2 separate regions of the Homo sapiens genome follow, and region 2 is linked to region 1. Evidence: promoter capture Hi-C in 16 types of primary human blood cells and fetal thymus (Javierre and others, 2016). All regions are on one chromosome and are shown on one strand. Each heading gives the region's core, a stretch centred on a gene start or on the middle of the fragment in contact. The rest is flanking DNA. Distances are from core to core; before and after follow the strand shown. Region 1 holds the start of HIP1R (huntingtin interacting protein 1 related). Region 2 has its middle 4.2 kb from the start of ABCB9.

Region 1 (2,831 bases), core at 139-2,638:
AATTAGCCAGGCGTGGTGGCACATGCCTGTAATTCCAGCTATTTGGGAGGCTGAGGCAGGAGAATTGCTTGAACCCAGGAGGCGGAGGTTGCGGTGAGGTGAGATTGTGCCATTGCACTCCAGCCTAGGCAACAAGAGTGAAGCTCGGTTAAAAAAAAAGAAAAGAAAGAAAGAGAAGAAAAGAAAAGAAAGAAAGAAAGAGAAAGAAAGAAGAGAGAGAAAGAGAGAAAAGAAAGAAAAGAAGGAGGAAGGAAAGGAAAGGGAAAGGGAAAGGAAAGGAAAGGAAAGGAAAGGAAAGGGTCTCTGACCTCAGACAGGTTACAGTCTCACTAGGGAGACAAGGGTCAGGATTACGTGGGCGTCATTTTCCTCCTTACAGGCAGGCGGTGCCTCTCCCTTCAAAAGCAAGGGACCTTTATGCATGATTCCACATCTGCATTCCGATAGGAAAGGGAAACAGCAGAAACACAATACCCATCTGAGAGCTACGCTTAGAGAGGACTCTGGGCTTTTATTTATTTTTTTACTTCAGTCTTGTGACCAGTAATTTTAAGGGAAAGCCAATAATAATGTTTTTAAAAAGCCTCACGCCACCCCTGGCGGCATCTCCTCGGTGTACTTTGCTGTTCAGATCCGCCTGCCTTCTGTGCCAGCCTAACAGCGCCCGGCCTCAGCCCCCATTGTCCCTGGAGCTGGCGAGGTGTCCGGTTGCGGAGCCGGCGGCGTCTCTGGAAATGCATCCTGCATCCCCGCATGGATAACAGCTGCAGCTATGTCAGAATTGCACAAAGAGGGGAGAGTGTCATTGTGTGCCTTTTGACACATACATTAAGACCAAAAAGGAAAAAAAGCGTCTATCTGTGCTGCCACCGACCAGACTCATGGAGGCCAGATTTTCTCCAATTAACCAGATCTTGCCCTGGTGCAGACAAGACTTAGTGAGTTCGGAGGAGGGGTGGGGAGAGGGAATTGGCTGGGGTCCCTACCCTGGGTGGAAGGAGGAGGGAGGGGTTCCCCCTCCCCCTTCCCCTACCCTCCCCTCCGGGTTTAGGGAGGGGATTAGAGGTGGGGAGGAGCTGGGGGGGCGTTTGGCCTGTGCCCCAACCTTGTGAGTGAGGTGGGGGTTGGAGGTGTGCGGGGGGCGGGGCGTGTGCCGGGGTCGCCGCGGGATGGGGGGTTGGGGATGTGCGGGGAGAGGCGCGTGTCCCGAGATCGCGGGGGGTGGGGTTGGAGGTGTGCGGGTGGAGGGGCGCGCCCTGGAGTTGGGGGCGGGCGAGGCGTTTGCGGGCGCGGGGGGCGGGTTTGGAGGTGTGCGGGGGAGGGGCGTGCCCTGGAGTTGGGGGCGGGGCGAGGCGGGCTCCTCCCCGGCGGGCGGGCCCGGGCGCGGCGCGGTGGCCTCGCGGTGCCTAGGCTGGGGCTGCCGGACCGTGAGGCTGTGAGTCGCGCGGACGGAGCCGGACAAAAGCGGGCGGCGGCGGCAGGATGAACAGCATCAAGAACGTGCCGGCGCGGGTGCTGAGCCGCAGGCCGGGCCACAGCCTGGAGGCCGAGCGCGAGCAGTTCGACAAGACCCAGGCGAGCGGGCGGCGGGCGGCGGGCGGCGGGCGGCGGCGGGCGGGCGGGCAAGCGGCGTCCCTGACCCCTCACGCGCGAACGGCTGGGGCCCGGGAGGCGCCGGCCAGGGGCGGGGGACGGCGCGGGGGCAGGGCCTGTGTCCGCCCGGGCTCTCCGAGAGCTCCGCTGCCGCCCCCCGCCGGCCTCCGCGGCCCGAGCCGACCGGCGCGCAGGTGAACCGGAAGCCGCGCTCCCCGCTCCCGCCGGGCGCTCGGGCCCAGAGGCGCCGGGGCTGAGGGGGCCGGGGTCAGGGTGTGCGCGGGCCGGGAGCGCCGGAGCTGAGGCGGCGGGGGACGGAGATGGGGCCGGGGTTGGGTGTGCGCGAGCCCAGCGCGCCGGGGGTCGAGGGGGCTGGGGATCCAGGTGCTCCCGGGGCCGGCGCGGCCCGACTGGGGTCCCCGACCTTCCGTGCCGCTCCTTGCCGGCTCCTGCCCCCGTCTCCTACCCCCTGAAACCGATGCCCCCACGGGCAATTTCCTTAAAGGAAATTCCTTAAACTCCCAGCTTCCTTCTCTCGTGAGCGGTTTCCCAGGGCTGCACAGTCTCCTATTATTTGCTGGGTGAAAAGCTTCTCGTATGTCGCCAGACTTGTTTGCCCGAGCGCTGCCCACGTATAAATAGGTGCACACCCCCTCATTAAATACCGGCGCCCGACAGACAGAAACTTCCTGGGGCTCCCTTCCTGCGCCTCCCACGCTTGTAACTCTTCCAGATGATGCCTATCCTGGGAAGGCGTTAGAAATGAAATAAGGGCGCGGGTGTGCGTTTTGTACTTGTGTTTGTGCCGGGGACCCACGATGCAGACGTTGCTGCGTTTCTGGTTTCCTGTTGCTTTTTATTTTACAAACTCTTGAAGTGCTCTCAGGCTTGGGGGATGGGCGGTGGAGGGGGGCATACTTGTTTATTTGCCAAAATAAGTCAACCAAGACTGAAATGGCTGAAAAATTTTACTCTAGAGATAAAGGAAGCCAGAGGACCCCTCCCACTCCTGTCTAAAGCAGGTTGGTGACATTTGCGTTTGTGGCGGCTATTTGCAAGTTCCGTCCCACTTGTCCTTGCAGAGAGCTATGACTTCTGCGGTTGCCTTCACATCTAGTTAGCACACGCACTCTACAACAGCTTTCGTTTTGAAATGAGAGAGAACGCAGGGAGACCTTCTAACCTTTGTGCTTGGGATTGACCCAGAAAGCGATAATAAATCCTGAGGATATCAAGGC
Region 2 (2,831 bases), core at 158-2,657, 140 kb after region 1:
ATCCCCAGCCTAGTCACAGAGACTGGCTCTGGTAAACTTGGACTAAGAACCATTGTGTGAGTGACTGCTAATGGATACGGTGTCTTTTTGGGTGAGGAATGTTCTAAAAGTTGATTGTAGTGATGGTTGCACAACTCTGTGAATATACTAAAAACTCTTGAATTGTAAACTTTAATTTGGTGAATTGTATGGTATGTACAGTGTATCTCAATAAAGCTATTATTACAAAAGGAAGTCCAGGCAATGTGGCTTATGCCTGTAATCCCAGCACTTTGGGAGGCCAAGGTGGCAGGATCACTTGAACCCAGCCCGGGCAACACAGTGGGACCCAGTTGCTACAAACAATTTAAAAAATTAGCTGGGTGTGGTGGCACATGCCTGTAGTCCCAGCTACTCAGGAGGCTGAGGTGGGAGGATTGCTTGAACCTGGGATGTTGAGGCTGCAATGAGCTGTGTCCATACCACTGAACTCCAGCCTGGGCGACAGAGACCCTGTCTCAAAAAAAAAAAAAAAGAGAAAGAAAAAACACTCCATGCCATATGCCATAAAGGAAATGCAAATTAAAACAGCAATGTGATATCAATACACACACACTAGAATAGCTGAGATCTGGAACACTGACAACACCAAATGCTGTCAGCGATGAGGAACAACAGGGACTCTCATTCATTGCTGCTGGGAATGCAAAACAGTCCAGCTAGGGAGGAAGGCAGTTCGGCAGGTTTTTTTATAAAACTAACTATGCTCTTACTACATGATCAGGCAATCACACTCTGTGATATTTACCCAGAGGAAGTAAAAATTTACGTCTACAGAAACACCTGTCCACAGATGTTTATAGAAGCTTTATCATTATTACTTTCGAGATGGAGTCTCACTCTGTCTCCCAGGCTGGAGTGCAATGGCATGAACTCAGCTCACTGCAACCTCCGCCTCCCGGGGTCAAGTGATTCTCCTGCCTCAGCCTCCCGATCAGCTGGGATTACAGAAGCCTGCCACCATGCCCGGCTAATTTATTTATTTATTTATTTGAGATGAACTCTTGCTCTGTCACCCAGGCTGCAGGGCAGTGGTGTGATCTCGGCTCACTGCAACCCCCACCTCCTAGGCTCCAGTGACTCTCCTGCCTCAGCCTCCCAAGTAGCTGGGATTACAGGCGCATGCCACCACGCCTGGCTAATTTTTGTATTTTTGGTAGAGATGAAGTTTCACCATATTGGCCAGGCTGGTCTAGAACTCCTGACCTCAGGTGATCCACCTGCCTCGGCCTCCCAAAGTGCTGGGATTACAGGTGTGAGCCACCACACCCAGCCTGGAAGCTTTATTCTATTGAATGTTTCCAACACGAAGAAATGATAGATGTTTGAGATGATATATATGCTCATGACCCTGATCTGATCACTATGCATTATATGTATTGAAACATCACTACATACCCCATGAGCATGTAAAATGATTTATCGACTAAAACATAAACAAAAATAAAATAAAATAAAGCTTTATTCGTAATTGCCTAAACTTGGAAGCAACTATGATGTCGTTCAGCAGGTGAATGGATGCACTGTGGTACACCCAGACAACAGAATATTATTCAGTGCTAAAATGAAATGAGCTATCAAGCCATGAAAAGGCACGGAGGAACCTTCAATGCACATTCCTAAGAGAAGGAAGCAATCTGAAAAAGCTCCCTACTGTATGATTCCTACCATATGACATTCTGGAAAAGGCAAAACGGTGGAGACAGTACAAAGATCAGTGTTTGCCAAGGGTTAGTGAGAAGGAAGGGGTGAGTAGGCAGGGCACAGAGGATTTTTAGGGCAGTGAAACTACTCCATATGATACTGTAATGGTAGATGCATGCCACATACATTTGTCAAAAACTATAGGCCTGTAATCCCAGCACTTTGGGAGGCCAAGGCGGGTGGATCACCTGAGGTCAGGAGTTCGAGACCAGCCTGGCCAATATGGTGAAACCCTGTCTCTACCAAAAATATAAAAAAAAATTAGCCAAGTGTGGTGGCACACCCCTGTAATCCCAGCTACTCAGGAGGCTGAGGCAGGAAAATCGCTTGAACCCAGGAGGTGGAAGATGCAGTGAGCTGAGATCATGCCACTGCAGTCCAGCCTGGGCGACAGAGTGAGACTCCATCTCAAAAAAAAAAAAAAAAAAAATCAAAAACAAACAAAAACAACAAAAAAACTATAGAATATGTTTATTTAATTTTTAATGATTTTTTTGAGACAGGGTCTCATTCTGTCACCCAGGCTGGGGTTCAGCAGCATGACCTCTGCCCATGCAACCTCTGCTTCCCAGGTTCAAGTGATTCTCCCACCTCAGCCTCCTGAGTAGCTGGGATCATAGGTGTGCCACCACAACCAGCTAATTTTCGTATTTTTCATAGAGACGGGATTTTGCCATGTTGACCAGGCTGGTCTCGAACTCCTGAGTTCAAGCGATCTGCCCACCTCGACCTCCCAAAGTGCTGGGATTACAGGTGTGAGCCACTGCGCCCAGCCAAAAACTATAGAATATATGAATCCTAATGTAAACTGCCAGCTTTGGATGATAATGAGGTGTCAGTGTGGGTTCACTGACCATAACAAATGTACTGGCTCGTGTGGGATGGTGATGGTGGGGGAGGCTGTGTGTGCTGTGGCTATACTTGCTACTCAATTTTGCTGTGAGCCTAAAACTGATCTTAAAAAAAAGGAAATCTATTAAAAGTGGTTAAAATGGTAAATTTCGTTATGTAGATGTTATCATAATAAAAAGAATGTTCATAGCAGCTTCATTCATAATGTCTTTTTTTTTTTTTTTTTTTTTTGTTGA

What was found. The method cuts DNA at HindIII sites, captures the fragments that hold promoters and counts their contacts. A CHiCAGO score of 5 or more calls a contact.
Region 2: a contact is called between a fragment that was not itself captured here and the fragment with the promoter of HIP1R in region 1, in 9 of 17 cell types (naive CD4 T cells, total CD8 T cells, naive B cells and 6 more). The highest score is 7.7, in naive CD4 T cells.

The regions. Positions count from the first base shown.
Region 1 is chr12:122,834,069-122,836,899 of GRCh38, forward strand. It overlaps HIP1R (huntingtin interacting protein 1 related), which reads left to right and starts at 1,389. Exons shown (of 32, transcript NM_003959.3): 1 at 1,389-1,575. The coding sequence starts at 1,483. LOC124903040 (a long non-coding RNA gene) reads right to left here and starts at 1,165. Exons shown (of 2, transcript XR_007063501.1): 1 at 1,106-1,165; 2 at 487-770. RefSeq lists an enhancer at 991-1,040 and silencers at 1,291-1,530, 1,701-1,900. The HindIII fragment of the contact is 2,457 bases long and covers 1-2,180 here.
Region 2 is chr12:122,969,234-122,972,064 of GRCh38, forward strand. It overlaps a transcript of ABCB9 not described here. Among named protein-coding and RNA genes, the nearest start is that of ABCB9, 4.2 kb to the left of the region's middle. The HindIII fragment of the contact is 178 bases long and covers 1,319-1,496 here.